3 separate regions of the Homo sapiens genome follow, and regions 2 and 3 are each linked to region 1. The links are contacts of gene promoters, found by promoter capture Hi-C in blood cells and fetal thymus (Javierre and others, 2016). All regions are on one chromosome and are shown on one strand. Each heading gives the region's core, a stretch centred on a gene start or on the middle of the fragment in contact. The rest is flanking DNA. Distances are from core to core; before and after follow the strand shown. Region 1 holds the start of ACSL3 (acyl-CoA synthetase long chain family member 3). Region 2 overlaps AP1S3 (adaptor related protein complex 1 subunit sigma 3). Region 3 overlaps CCDC140 (CCDC140 long non-coding RNA).

Region 1 (4,117 bases), core at 929-3,428:
TGCAAACTTCATTGTTGTCTATTTTAAGGAATTGTTACAGCCATCCCCACCTTCAGCAACCATCACCTTGATCAGTTAGCAGCCATCAACCCTGAGGTGAGACCCTCCTCCAGCAAAAAAGATTACAACTTGCTGAAGACTCAGGTGATTGCCAGCATTTTTTTTGCAATAAAGTATTTTTAAATTAAGATATGTACATTGTTTTGTTAAATATAATGCTATTGCACGCTTTATAGTATGAACATAACTTTTTTTTTTTTTTTGAGATGCAGTTCACTCTTGTTGCCCAGGCTGGAGTGCAATGGCACGATCTCGGCTCACTGCAACCTTCGCCTCCCAGGTTCAAGCGATCTCCTGTCTCAGCCTCCCGAGTAGTTGGGATTACAGGCGCATGCCACCACGCCTGGCTAATTTTTGTATTTTTAGTAGAGACAGGGTTTCATCATATTGGTCAGGCTGGTCTCGAACTCCTGACCTCAGGTGATCCGCCTGCCTTGGCTTCCTAAAGTGCTGGGATTACAGGCGTGAGCCACCGCTCCCGGCGAACATAACTTTTATATTTACTGGGAAACCAAACAATTCATGTGACTCACTTAATTTTGATATTCCCTTTAAGTGTCAGTGGTCTGGAACCAAACCCACAATGTCTCTGAAGTATCTCTATGTATTTCTACTTAGCTTGTTAAACAGCAAACAAGATGAGAATTTAGAATTTTAATTCCCAGGACCATTTTCTTTTAAATATAGGTCCATATCCATAATATATATTCCATAATATAAAGATAATGAAGAAAGATATTGTTGGAATTCTTCTAGTCTGTTTTAGGCTTATGGATAGATAAAAAGGTGCAATATTAGTTTTCTTCTCTCGGAAAAAAACCAGTATTTTCCAGAGGATTTCATGGTTCTAGAAGTACTACTTCTAAAGCCTGCTTCTCTCTGCAGAGCTGCGAATGTCTTTTCAGATAAGAAATTCTGCATTCCATTTATCTTCAGGATGTATCCTTTGATAAGATTTCAACAGATTAATGAGCAACTGAACTGCCATATTTTGAAGTGGGAGAACAGTTTGCCTGAGTCAGGTATCCATCCCTTTAGGTTCTCGATTGGCCCTTGGCCCACGGTGAGTGAGCTCTCTTTGCTTGGTGCATCATCGCTCCACCTAGTTCAAGTTCTGGCGGCTTCCTGATTTTGATTCTCTTGGGAAATGAGGCCTGCTTTAGCCTGAGGCTGGCTCAGGAAGGCAACCTTTCACCTACTTAAGGAAAAGTTCACAGGCAAACTAAACAATATGTTGGGTTAAAAAAAGAGACCAATCCTACTAGTACTGGGTGAGTGAAAATCTTCTCTCTTACAGTACATGTAGTTCTACTACCTGCACTGGATGCTTTCTTTCTTATCCTTGTTTAGTGTCTAAAACGAGAAACAATGGCAAACTCCTTAAAATACAGAACCACTGTGGATTCCTAAGAACGTTCAAAAACAATAATTTGGAGTAAACTTTATTTTTTGAAAAGAAATAGCAAATTTGCATGGTGAGTGCATTTAGAGGAAAACGGGTTATATGCTAGGTCAAGTGAGGCCAAAACAAGAGAAATGATAATGGATAAGCTTTGAGTTTTTGAGGCTCTTCTTGCCCCAGGCAGTTCCAAAAGCCATTTTATTTGGCAGGATTTGACAGCAATTTCTGCAAGAACGGGATAACTAATCCAGTTAAAAACGAAAAAGAATATGCATACTATTTCATAATTTATATTGAAATTTATACATTACAGCAATAATTGTGCGACTGTAATTTTTTTTTTTTTTTTTTTGGTGGAGGGGTGTTTTTTCCTGGAGGGACGGAGCTCCTGCAGACCCTATTGGGCTAGCCGCTCCTCCCACGTCGCTGCCGCAGATCCCCGCTCCCCTCCCCCACCCGCGGTCCGTCCCTCCTGGTCGACCCCGTTCCCGCCCCCGCCCCGCGCAGACTGCAGCCAGGTCCGGTCCGCGGCGGCTCCGCGGAATGACCCGTAGTAACCTCGCCCCGCCCCGGGCCGCCAGCGCCGCGCTCCCCGGCCCGAATTCGATAGGCCCAGCCCCGCACGCGCCACCGCTCGCGGGCCAATGGGTGGCAGCCTCTCTGCATAGGCAACGAGTGCCGGCCGGGGGTGAGCGTCCCAGGCGGTTCCGCTCAACAGACGCTGCTGTGGCTGCGCCGGGCTGCGACACTGCAGTTGTCTACGCGGCCGGGGCCGGGACGAGGAGGCGTTGGACGGGGTCGCATACGTTCGTCCCCTCGCATTGCGGCCCCGACAGCTGCGCCAGGATCCCCGGGCGGCGGCGCGGGGCGTGAACGCTCTGGGGCTCAGCCAGGCCTGCGCGGGCCCGAGGCCGGAGGAACCCGGACTCCGGCGTAGCGGTGAGTGCGGCGCCGGTTGTGGGAGCGGCGGGAGCCGGTTGGCGGCGCGGCCTCCGCGTGCGGTTCGGCTGGGCCCGAGGGGCTCCCCAGCCTCGGGGCCTGGGACCCTGTCGTCGGCGCCGCACCTGACCGCTGGGTGTGCGCGCGGGCGGCCCGCGGCACCAGGAGCAGCGGCGAGCAGGGTGGGAGGCGGCCCGCTGGGGTCCGGGAAGCGGCTGACGTGGGGCCTCGGCCCTGAGCCCACGCGAGCCGGGAGCTGCAGCGCGAACGGCGTGGGGCGGCGCTGACCAGGCAGGGAGGATGCACTGCGTGCCTCCCGGCGCTGTGGGGCGGGGTGGGGAGGCCACCCCCTTGAATTAAGAGGGCTCTGCCGCGGCCCCAGCAGTGCGGTGTCCGTGGAAGGAGACTCAGCCCTGCGATTTCGGAAAACCCTTGTTTGGCGGGGCGGGAGGGGCTGTTGCTGCGTGGGGTGAGAAGAAACTAGGTGCGTGAGGTGGGTCGACCTTGGTGATTGGTTCTGGGCACTATCGTGGTGGTGGGACTGGGATTAAGACTGTCGTTTGGGGTTTGAGAGTTGCAGCTTTGCTTTTCCCCAAGTGCGTTTTAATCATATACTGTTGATAGGTTGGGTAACTCGGGGACTGCTTACTACCAGCAGTCCTGTGGGGTAGGTGTTATCAGGCTCGTTTCACAGATGAGGAGCCCGAGGCACAGGTTTTCAAATGGTTTTCGCAGGAAGTCTGATACTAGAAAGTGTGCTCTAAGCTGCTGTATAAAAGATCCCTCGAAAATGAAAAGGCTGGAGGAATGTCTTTAAAATTATATGGAAGCTAGAAAGGCAGTAGGCTTTGTGAACGAAATTATAGCTGAAAAGAATGACAAATAGCTGACATTTATTGAGCTTTTATTACATGCCACGCACTGTTTGGAGAGCTTTATGTACAGTGTCTTCACACTGTTAACAGTCCTCTGGGGTGGGGGTTATTCCCATTTTACAGCGGGAGAAACTGCAGATTGGACGACTTAGCTTGCCTCAGATCTCAGCTAGTAAGAAGCTGGGATTCAGACAGGCCTGTGTAAATCCAGAGCTCTGAAATCTAAGCACTATATTTTGCTGCCTCTCCTTGGTGGCTGGCTGAATAGTTTCCACAGTGGATTTTAGTCTGGGTGGCCAGGAGAGTTGTAGTTTGATGATACCTTCTTTCATGTTTATCAACCTATTTTGTTTCCCCAAATTAGTTCTGAGAGTTAAGGGTGCTGATGAGTTGCTCCTGAAAGTGTATTAGAAGGGTATTATAGGGGACAGGTGGTGTGACATGGGAATCTTTTGCACAGACTTGATTTTGTTTTCTGGCATTTTTCTGGGCAGTTCCTCACACTTGGGGATGAGTAAGCCTTCTAATTGTCGCATGCGTTTTCTCTCTAGACTTTTCCTGGTTTCTCTTTTGTATAAAAATATTGGTTTTGTAGGATGACATTGGGTGTGGGGCAGAGTGGTCCATTGGACCTAAGGGTCAAGGTGACAAGTCACCTCGTATCTTTGGATCTCAGTTACTGAATTTGTAAGGCTTTAGACTCAGTGACTTAAAGCTTAAATATTCTGAGGGTCTAAAATGTTCTCCTTGAAGGAAGAAAGGAAGAATGGGAGAAATGAAGAACGCACAAATTATAAGGGGAAAATCATCCTCTGTCTGGTTTGGGGTGAGAATCAGATCT
Region 2 (4,117 bases), core at 486-2,985, 970 kb after region 1:
AAGTCCACTTGTGCTTTTATTAAAAGTACCCCCAAAGCATTTCAAATGTCACTGTATACATCCCCACAGCTATCTTGTTAAAGGCAAAATACATACATACATACATACATACATACATACATACATACATAAACAACATAATCCTCCTTCATTGCCAACCATTCAACAGTACATTCTGCCCCATAAGCCTTTTTAAACACACTGGGCTCAGCTCGTGGGATTCCTGAAGTGCAATAGCCCTAACACTGTTTTCCAAGGTAGAGATTTCTAAAAGGTGAGATGGAGTACACAGTTGCTTCAAACAGTGTGATCCAGATACAAACACAGTCCCAACATGCACCAGATATGAAATCTCTGTGCCAGAAACCAGGGTCACTGGCACCATGGAATCAAGAACCATTTTCTGTGTGTAAAGTACTAGGTGCCTAGATCTGCCAGTAAGCATCTACCAGTTTCCTAGCATAAAAGTCAGCAAAAGTCAGGAATGAAGCAGCAGGAAAGACAGGGAGTTACACAGTGAGCCTCAACAAAGGTCTCAGAGCAGCTGGGCACTAGCGAGGGCCGCCAATTCTTTCTTACAACTTGAAGGTAATAACAGAGGAGAGGTGATGGTTACTGAGCATTTACAATGGCAAAGCTGTTTGAAGCGCCTTCACACGCATTCACTTATGGTACCTGTTAAACTCCGGGACAGTGATTATGAAACTTTTTGGATGCCTTTACACTCTTTTTATTTATTTATTTATTTATTTATTTATTTATTTATTTATTTGAGATGGAGTTTTGTTCTTGTTGCCCAGGCTGGAGTGCAATGGCACGATCTTGGCTCACCACAACCTCCACCTCACGGGTTCAAGCGATTCTCCTGCCTCAGCCTCCCAAGTAGCTGGGATTATAGGCATGCGCCACCACACCCAGCTAATTTTGTATTTTTAGTAGAGACAGTGTTTCTCCATGTTGATCAGGCTGGTCTCAAATTCCTGACTTCAGGTGATCCGCCTGCCAATCCCAAAGACCTTTTTGTTTATGTGGGTTATATCCACTGATATTTATTGTATTTGAAATTAAAATGAAAAAATAGATATTAACATATTTTAAAATAATACGACTTGGGCAACATAGGTAGGCTTCATTTCTACAAAAAGTAAAAAATTCCACTGGGCCCAATTGTTCATGCCTATAATCTCAGCACTTTGGGAGGACAAGGTGGGAATATTACATGAGTTCAGGAGTTCAAGACCAGCCTAGGCAACAAAGTAAGACCTCATTTATACAAAAATCAAAAAATTACCTGGGCATGATGGCACACACCTGTGGTCCCAGCTACATGGAAGGCTGAGGTAGGAGGATGCCTTGAGTCCACTGGGTTGAGGCTGCAGTAAGCCATGTTCATGCTACTGCACTCTACTCTGGGTGATAGAACAAGCCTTGTCTCAAAATAAATAAATAAATAAATAGCTGGGCATGGTGGGACATGCCTACAGTCCCAGCTACTCAAGAAGCTGAGGTAGGAGGGTTGCTGGAGCCTAGGAGGTTGAGGCTGCTGTGAGCTGTGATCACACCACTGCACTCAGCTTGGGCGACACAGAGACCCTGTCTCAAAAATAAATAAATAAAAAGAAAAAACAATAGTAAACCTATTACACATTAAACATAAATAACATTTTTATGACCAATAACAATATTTTTCCAAAGCAAAAAAAAAATTAGTGAAAAGCATGGCACTGTTTTACAATTTTGCAAATCTCCTTAATGTCTGGGCTTATCAAAGACAGTTGGACTTTCCTATCTGCATCTGTGTTCAATCTGTTGTACTATCTCAGCTTATGTAGACACAAGAAAACTTCACTGTAGTCTTGTGAGAATGAGAATGAAATGGGAAAATTAATATCTTAGTATTATTATGAAAATAGTTTTGACCTTGCAGACCTCCAGTAAAAGTCTTGGGGACTGCTGGGGGTACCCAGGTCACACTTTCAGAACCTCTGCCTTATGAGTTAGGAGATATTATCTCCATTTTTCAAATGGGCAAACTGAGACAGAGAGGTCAAGGAATTGTCCAAGGCCATACTGCTAGAATAGCTCAGAGTAGCTAAAATGCAATGAGCATAACAGATTTAACCTCAATTGTTTGTTGCAAGGATTGAATGAGATCGTGAATATAAAGAGCAGGACATCCTGCTTGTCTTATCACAAATGCCCAATAACATTAATGTTTCCCCGCCAGGTGCGGTGGCTCATGCCTGTAATGCCAGCACTTTGGGAGGCCGATGCAGGTGGATCACGAGGTCAGGAGTTTGAGACCAGCCTGGCCAACATGGCAAAACCCCGTCTCTACTAAAAATACAAAAATTAGCTAGGCGTGGTGGCGGGCGCCTGTAATCCCAGCTACTTAGGAGGCTGAGGCAGGAGAATTGCTTGAACTCGGGAGATGGAGGTTGCAGTGAGCCAAGATCATGCCACTGCACTTCAGCCTGGGTGACAGAGCAAGATTCCGTCTCGAAGAAAAAAAAATAATAATAATGTTTCCCATTTAGCAAAAACTGGTAGAAAAGCTGGAGAAACTTCCCACATTTCTGATCAACTCATCACACATATGACACCAGCAAGAAAAAATAAAACTCCACCACAGGTATTGTCCAGAGGAGCAGCTTTTCCTTATAGACCAAACCTTGGCCCATTCCTCAGCACAAAAGCAGCCTTTGATGACTCAGAAACGCAGGGCCTTATTCCAGCCTCTGTTAGGCAAATTACACTGGTGGACTGGGCATCTGTCACCTTGTTCCTTGGGAAACTTGAGCAAGCCAAGAAACCTGCTCCATTATTTACAGCATTGTTTTTGCATCACGCTGTATTTACAAGGAACCCTCAACAGACAAAAATGATGCCGCTAGTGTGTGCAGCCAAACCTTTAACAGAAACCAGCAACTGCGGTCTTGCTGGCCAGGTGCTCAGCACTCCCCGGCTCTCTTTGTTGATCAACTTTCTTAGCCCACGTGGCCCACCCACTCCTGCCTCCGGTGGGCCCACAGGGTGCAGGTCACTTCCCTTCTGCGGATTTGGGAAGTGGTAACACACTTGGGGAAGTGGGACTAGTGACGTTCAGACCACCACACTCTTAAAAGGCTGCCCCTAAACAGCAGGCAAGAGCAAGAGGAGCCTGAGCTATCGCTTCCACCCAAGTGCAGGTCACCAGATCTCTCATCAGCAGGGCTGCGGCCGGCCTCAGCTTCCAACCTGACCCCCTATCCCCTGCCCTTACACACCCCAGTCCATTCTCCAACCACAGCCAAACTGCACACCATGCCGGGTGCAGTGGCTCACCCCTGTAATCCCTACACTTTGGGAGGCCGAGGCAGGCGGATCACCTGAGGTCAGGAGTTCGAGACCAGCCTGGCCAACATGGTGAAACCCCGTCTCTACTAAAAATACAAAAATTAGCTGGGTGTGGTGGCACACGCCTGTAATCCCCGTTACTCGGGAGGCTGAGGCAGGAGAATCGCTTGAACCCGGGAGGCAGAGCCGAGACCACACCACTGCACTTCAGCCTGGGCGACAGAGCGAGATCAGTCTCAAAAAAACAAAAGTGCACAACGGGTAAGGTCAGTTTTCTTGCTAAAACGTCCCCGAGGTTTCCCCTACTCAGTTGGAACCAAAACCAAACTCCTTATTTTGGCCTATAAAAACCCGCCTCACCTGGCAGAAGCCCACCTCTCCTGCCACAAACAAGGCCTTCTCCCCTCCGCTTTGCTCTCTCTAATCCACCTGTAGCGCCCCTCCAGGACCTCCAGCAGCTAGAATGTCATGTCCTTGAAGAGGCTTTGCCAAATCAAAAGTTGCCACTCCACCCGGTTGTATTTGAGACTTTACAGCGCTTCTTACTTTAGAAGTTCTCTTCATTTTACTTGTATATTGGACGTGTCCCTCCCTCCGCATCCCCCTCCTGGAAGGTAAGCTTCCTGGAGAACAGGGGCTCCTCCTGGTCCCCCGCGACATCCCCAGCGCCCAGCACCGAGCCCGGCACAGACTAAGCACTCGGCTAAGGCGGATCGAATGAATGAATGGAGCCGCGGCGCCGCGGCGCCGCGTTGCCGCAGGAATCCCGGGCAAGCGATCC
Region 3 (4,117 bases), core at 1,019-3,518, 560 kb before region 1:
TCGGGCAGGTTTTTCCCTTTGAAATAAAGGAAACAATGACTTCTGGGCTTCAAGTTCCCCCTTTTCCTTTTATGATTTTTGAATTTTTCCTGCCCCTGGAGGGAGTTCTCCACTCCTCTCTCTCTGTCCCCCTCCCCCACCTCCTTTGACAGTTTTGACGTGAACTCGGGCCCCCAACCCTACTTCCCCATTCCCTAATTAAGGCAAACTCAGAAGGCAAGATGTAGGGGGGTGTGGGGTATAGCCGCTCAGCAGTCCACAAGTTGGCCCTTTAAAAACCCACTCACCATTGGGGAAACCAGGCAAGCTTTCAGCCTGCCTGATGCCAGAAGGCTTGGTTGACCCTCAGAGCCACGGAGACAGGTCTCAGGAGACTCCCAGAAATGTCTGGACCCATGAAGGAGGCATGTGCCTTGTTTAACCTGGTTTTACATTAAATGATTCAATTTTTCAAGGGGAAAATTTTCTCATTTTCTTTTTAAGGCGTTGGGGCCACCAAAGCCTGTGTCCGTACGTTTTAAGCCACTTCTCAGCGATAGCATTTTGAGAGCTAGACTTTTTCCAAGTTTTCTTCTTCCCAAAGGTTAAGCAGAGTCGACAGAGCACTTTCTGGGGTCAGCGGTAATTGCTGTGTGAAGGAGGTACCAGAAGTGTAATTTCAAGAAGGCAAAAGTAGGCTCAACTCTCAGCTAAAATAAACTCTTGGACCCCGCGAGCAGTTAAAGAACATCTAGAGCTGAGTCTCATTTGTTTTTGAGCCGGAGGCTTGGTCTCCAAGCCCTCCCAGCGTCCACCCGTCTCTCTCCTGCCGGGAGTTTTCTCTCCTAAGAGCCGGCAGATGCTGGAGGGAAGCGCTTGCTGCAAGATTCCTTCTCCCGGTCCCGTAGATTGCAGAGTCCGCGGGACCGTTGAACGGAGGTACTGCCGGCTGAGCTGGGTCTTAAGTGCCCATGGGTTCATAAACTAGCTGTCACTTGCTATAAACATGTACAAATGGAGGCCACAAGGATGTGGGGGTGCTGGGGACCTAAAGCTCCGGAATCAGGAGGCGACTCATTTTCTCTCCTTTCCGGCCTCTTTCTTTTCTGCCGAGCGCTCTGAGATTCATATGTACCCAGATGATCAGCCCGGCCCTTCTCACCGGCCAGTGGCCAGAGGTCCCTGGACACCCGGAGAGGGGTGGGAGGGCACCCTTAGGCTCTGGACAGCTGGGCCACATCCAAAGACTTAATGAATCTAAATTTCTTGTGGCCTGTGTCCCCGAAGTCCGACCTGGGATGGCCAGGACAGCAAAGTTGGCTGAGGCTGCCTGGCCTAGGGCGCCCGCACGCCGCCAAACCTAACCCGGCTCAGAGCCGTGACTCCGCAGAACAGGGCGCAACAGGTCTCAGGAATGCCGGGTGATTCCAGCCACTCTTTCTCTGTCTCCGAGTCTTGGGCCTCCCCTTTATTTCTTTCTGAAGTCTCTCCGGAGCCCAAGCCACCCCACACCCAAACCCCGCAGCTGGATGGGAGTCCAGGCCACTTCCCTATCCGCAGCCGGTGGGCCAAGGAGTCCTGGTGCCAAATTTGGCCGCGGTACAGGCGCTAATTGGTAAAGGGATGACCCAGCGGTGGGGCTTGGAAGGCGAGGGCCCGCGCCCTGCATCCTTGAACCCTGGTTTGGGAGGCAGTGACTTTTACCTGGGCTAACAAATTACCCAGAAAGCATCAGTGGGACTCTCCACAACGGTGTTGTGAACGAGTGTAGGGTCCACTCACGCTCTGTGCACGTTCGAAATGAAACGGGAGCCTTGAAGACGATATTTGGATAATTTGACAAAAAAAAAAAAAAGGTGGGCGGGGGAGATAGCTTCTATTGTCCCCTCTGCGCCTCTGCCCCCAGTTTCAGAGACACTACAGGTGAAAATAACAGCGGGCTGGCTGTCCAGGCCTGAGTGGAGCGTGCCCTTGTTAGCTTGAAAGTTCTCCCTCGCAGCCCGTTTGGATGCGTGCGTCTACAGCCCAGTCGCACTTTGGTGACCGGCCTGGGCTGTGAAGCACCCTTTAGCGAACAGCCTCCGCACTTGGGGACACTGGCACAAGGGTTTCATGGCCCGTGGACTTCTCAGGGCCTCTGAGGGTTGACTTCATACTCAGCCAGACACAGGTCTTAAGAGGAAATTATGATCTATGCAAAATAATGTCCCTGACCTAGTGGGGAGCGGGGGTGGTGTCTGCCACCCAGACCTTTTTCCTCCCGTCTGAAGGGCCGAGCTCTGGCAGGCTGACACGGTCGAGCAGAGAAGTTCCTGGCCACCCGCCCGGCCCCAGGCGTGATTCTCAGGATGCAGTAAAAGTTGGGCAAACGCCGAGAAACCCTCAATCCCACAGAAAGGCTGCCGGGGGCTCACGGGGAGGACATCAAAACGCCAGGTTCGTGATCATGAGCTTCCGGTCCGGATGTGATGATACAGGATTGGTGAATGCCCGGGTTAAACCCGTGGTCCTTCGCAGCCGCTGCCTCAGTGACAGTCATTAGGCCCCCCGCAGTTATTTGTCAAAAGCATTGGCGCCGCTCTTCTCCCCATCGAAAAATCAGTCGGGATGAGTTCGGATTAAGGGACTAGATGAGGATGTGGACATCCCATTGAAACATGGTGTAGGCCAGCCGAAGTGGGTTTGCTCCTTCAGCTGGGGGAGCCCCAGGGAACGTGTGAGCGGGTTTACAATAAGGAACATATGGTTTGTGGGAAGATAGGAAGAGAGAAGGAAAATAGGAAAGGAAAAAGAAAAGAGGAAAAGAAGAGAGAGGTACTTTTTTTTTTAAAGGCAGTGAGGGAGGGAGAGAAGAATAAATCTCACAGCAGCTGGTGTCCTAGTTCATTTGGGTCTGAGAAAATTATTTTTAGGCAAACAAGGAAGACAGGATTCCGCCGCCCGATTCTCCAGGGCGGGAAGAATAGGATGTCTTGTAAAAAATAAGTAAGTCCTGTCTAATCTTCCAAAAAATGTTCTGCTCAATTAGGTAAAAGTTCATGGTGGGGTGGGGGTGATGTTTAGAAGACAGATTCTTCGGTAACTGCTCTTTGGTGTGTGTATTCGGGGTGTGTGTATTCGGGGTGTGTGTATTCGGGGTGTGTGTATGTGTGTGTGTGAAAGAATCTGGTGTGTGTGAAAGGGGTAAGGGTTGAAGGACCTTATTTAGCTGGGGGACCGTCTTGTATTGGGAGCGGGCAGCCTAGGCCTTGGAAAGACCAGAAAATCTGATCTGTGCGGAGGCAGGTGAAGGCTGTGAGTGAGGTGGGGGCGGGAACAGAGCTGGAGGAAGTGAATAAAAGAAACCTTGGGGTCCGTTGGTTTCCTTGACTCGTGGAGCAAAAAAGTAGGCGAGTGACCACTCCAGGAACTCCTGCCTCCGGGCGCCGGTACATAAAGAGCTGGGGCTGTGTGTCCTGCTCTTGGGGGAGGAGGGTACTGGGAAGGGGGAACTAACAGGTCTTTCTTTCGCTCGGATCAGGACTGGACTCCTTCTGACTCCACGCGGCCCCAGCTCCTGAACCAGCGCAGTGAGCCTCAGCCGCTTCTCAAACTGGGTCTCAGAAAATTTCTCCTCGAGATGGATTTCAGCGGCAGGAAAGAGGGGCCAGTGACGCGAGGAGCAAGAAAAGAGTAACATGGGAGATGAATGTTCAAACCCAGATCTCCTCGCTGAGCCTGGAAGCTCGCCACCGTGGGATCACGGGAACCAGAGGCAAGAGGCTGCGAATGAGTCCAACACCCGCGTTCCTCGAGTTTTAAAAGCACACCTGGGGCCAGAGACTGCACAGCCAACTAAACGGAGTAAACGCAACAGGTGGAGGAGGCAGAGTTGTCAGGGGCCAAGCCCGGCGCGATCTGGCCAGTTCTTGGGGAGCGCGGACCTGGGACTGCAGAGAGGCGTTTTGAAGAGTGCTGCGCGCACCTGCCTCTCGGAGATATCCAACTCCACCCGGGCGTCTCCTGAGAGCGCACAGTCCACAGACCCCGGGAGGGCTGCCCGCCCTAGGACACGTACTCTCCCGACCCCTCACTCTTTCAAAATTGGGGAAGAGGCGGAGGAGATGAAAAAGAAGAAAGAGAGAAAGAGAAGAAAAGA

What was found. The method cuts DNA at HindIII sites, captures the fragments that hold promoters and counts their contacts. A CHiCAGO score of 5 or more calls a contact.
Region 2: a fragment that was not itself captured here is called in contact with the fragment with the promoter of ACSL3 in region 1 in 1 of 17 cell types (monocytes); the score reaches 6.8 in monocytes.
Region 3: a fragment that was not itself captured here is called in contact with the fragment with the promoter of ACSL3 in region 1 in 1 of 17 cell types (monocytes); the score reaches 5.4 in monocytes.

The regions. Positions count from the first base shown.
Region 1 is chr2:222,858,858-222,862,974 of GRCh38, forward strand. ACSL3 (acyl-CoA synthetase long chain family member 3) reads left to right here and starts at 2,179. Exons shown (of 17, transcript NM_004457.5): 1 at 2,179-2,401. RefSeq lists an enhancer at 1,894-2,188 and silencers at 1,905-2,234, 2,305-2,674. The HindIII fragment of the contact is 2,380 bases long and covers 1,610-3,989 here.
Region 2 is chr2:223,833,154-223,837,270 of GRCh38, forward strand. The region is part of intron 1 of AP1S3 (adaptor related protein complex 1 subunit sigma 3); the gene reads right to left. Among named protein-coding and RNA genes, the nearest start is that of AP1S3, 2.4 kb to the right of the region's middle. RefSeq lists an enhancer at 3,836-3,925 and a silencer at 4,036-4,117. The HindIII fragment of the contact is 4,436 bases long and covers 1-3,953 here.
Region 3 is chr2:222,300,247-222,304,363 of GRCh38, forward strand. It overlaps CCDC140 (CCDC140 long non-coding RNA), which reads left to right. Exons shown (of 2, transcript NR_161172.1): 2 at 3,500-4,117. Among named protein-coding and RNA genes, the nearest start is that of PAX3, 3.3 kb to the left of the region's middle. The HindIII fragment of the contact is 3,927 bases long and covers 306-4,117 here.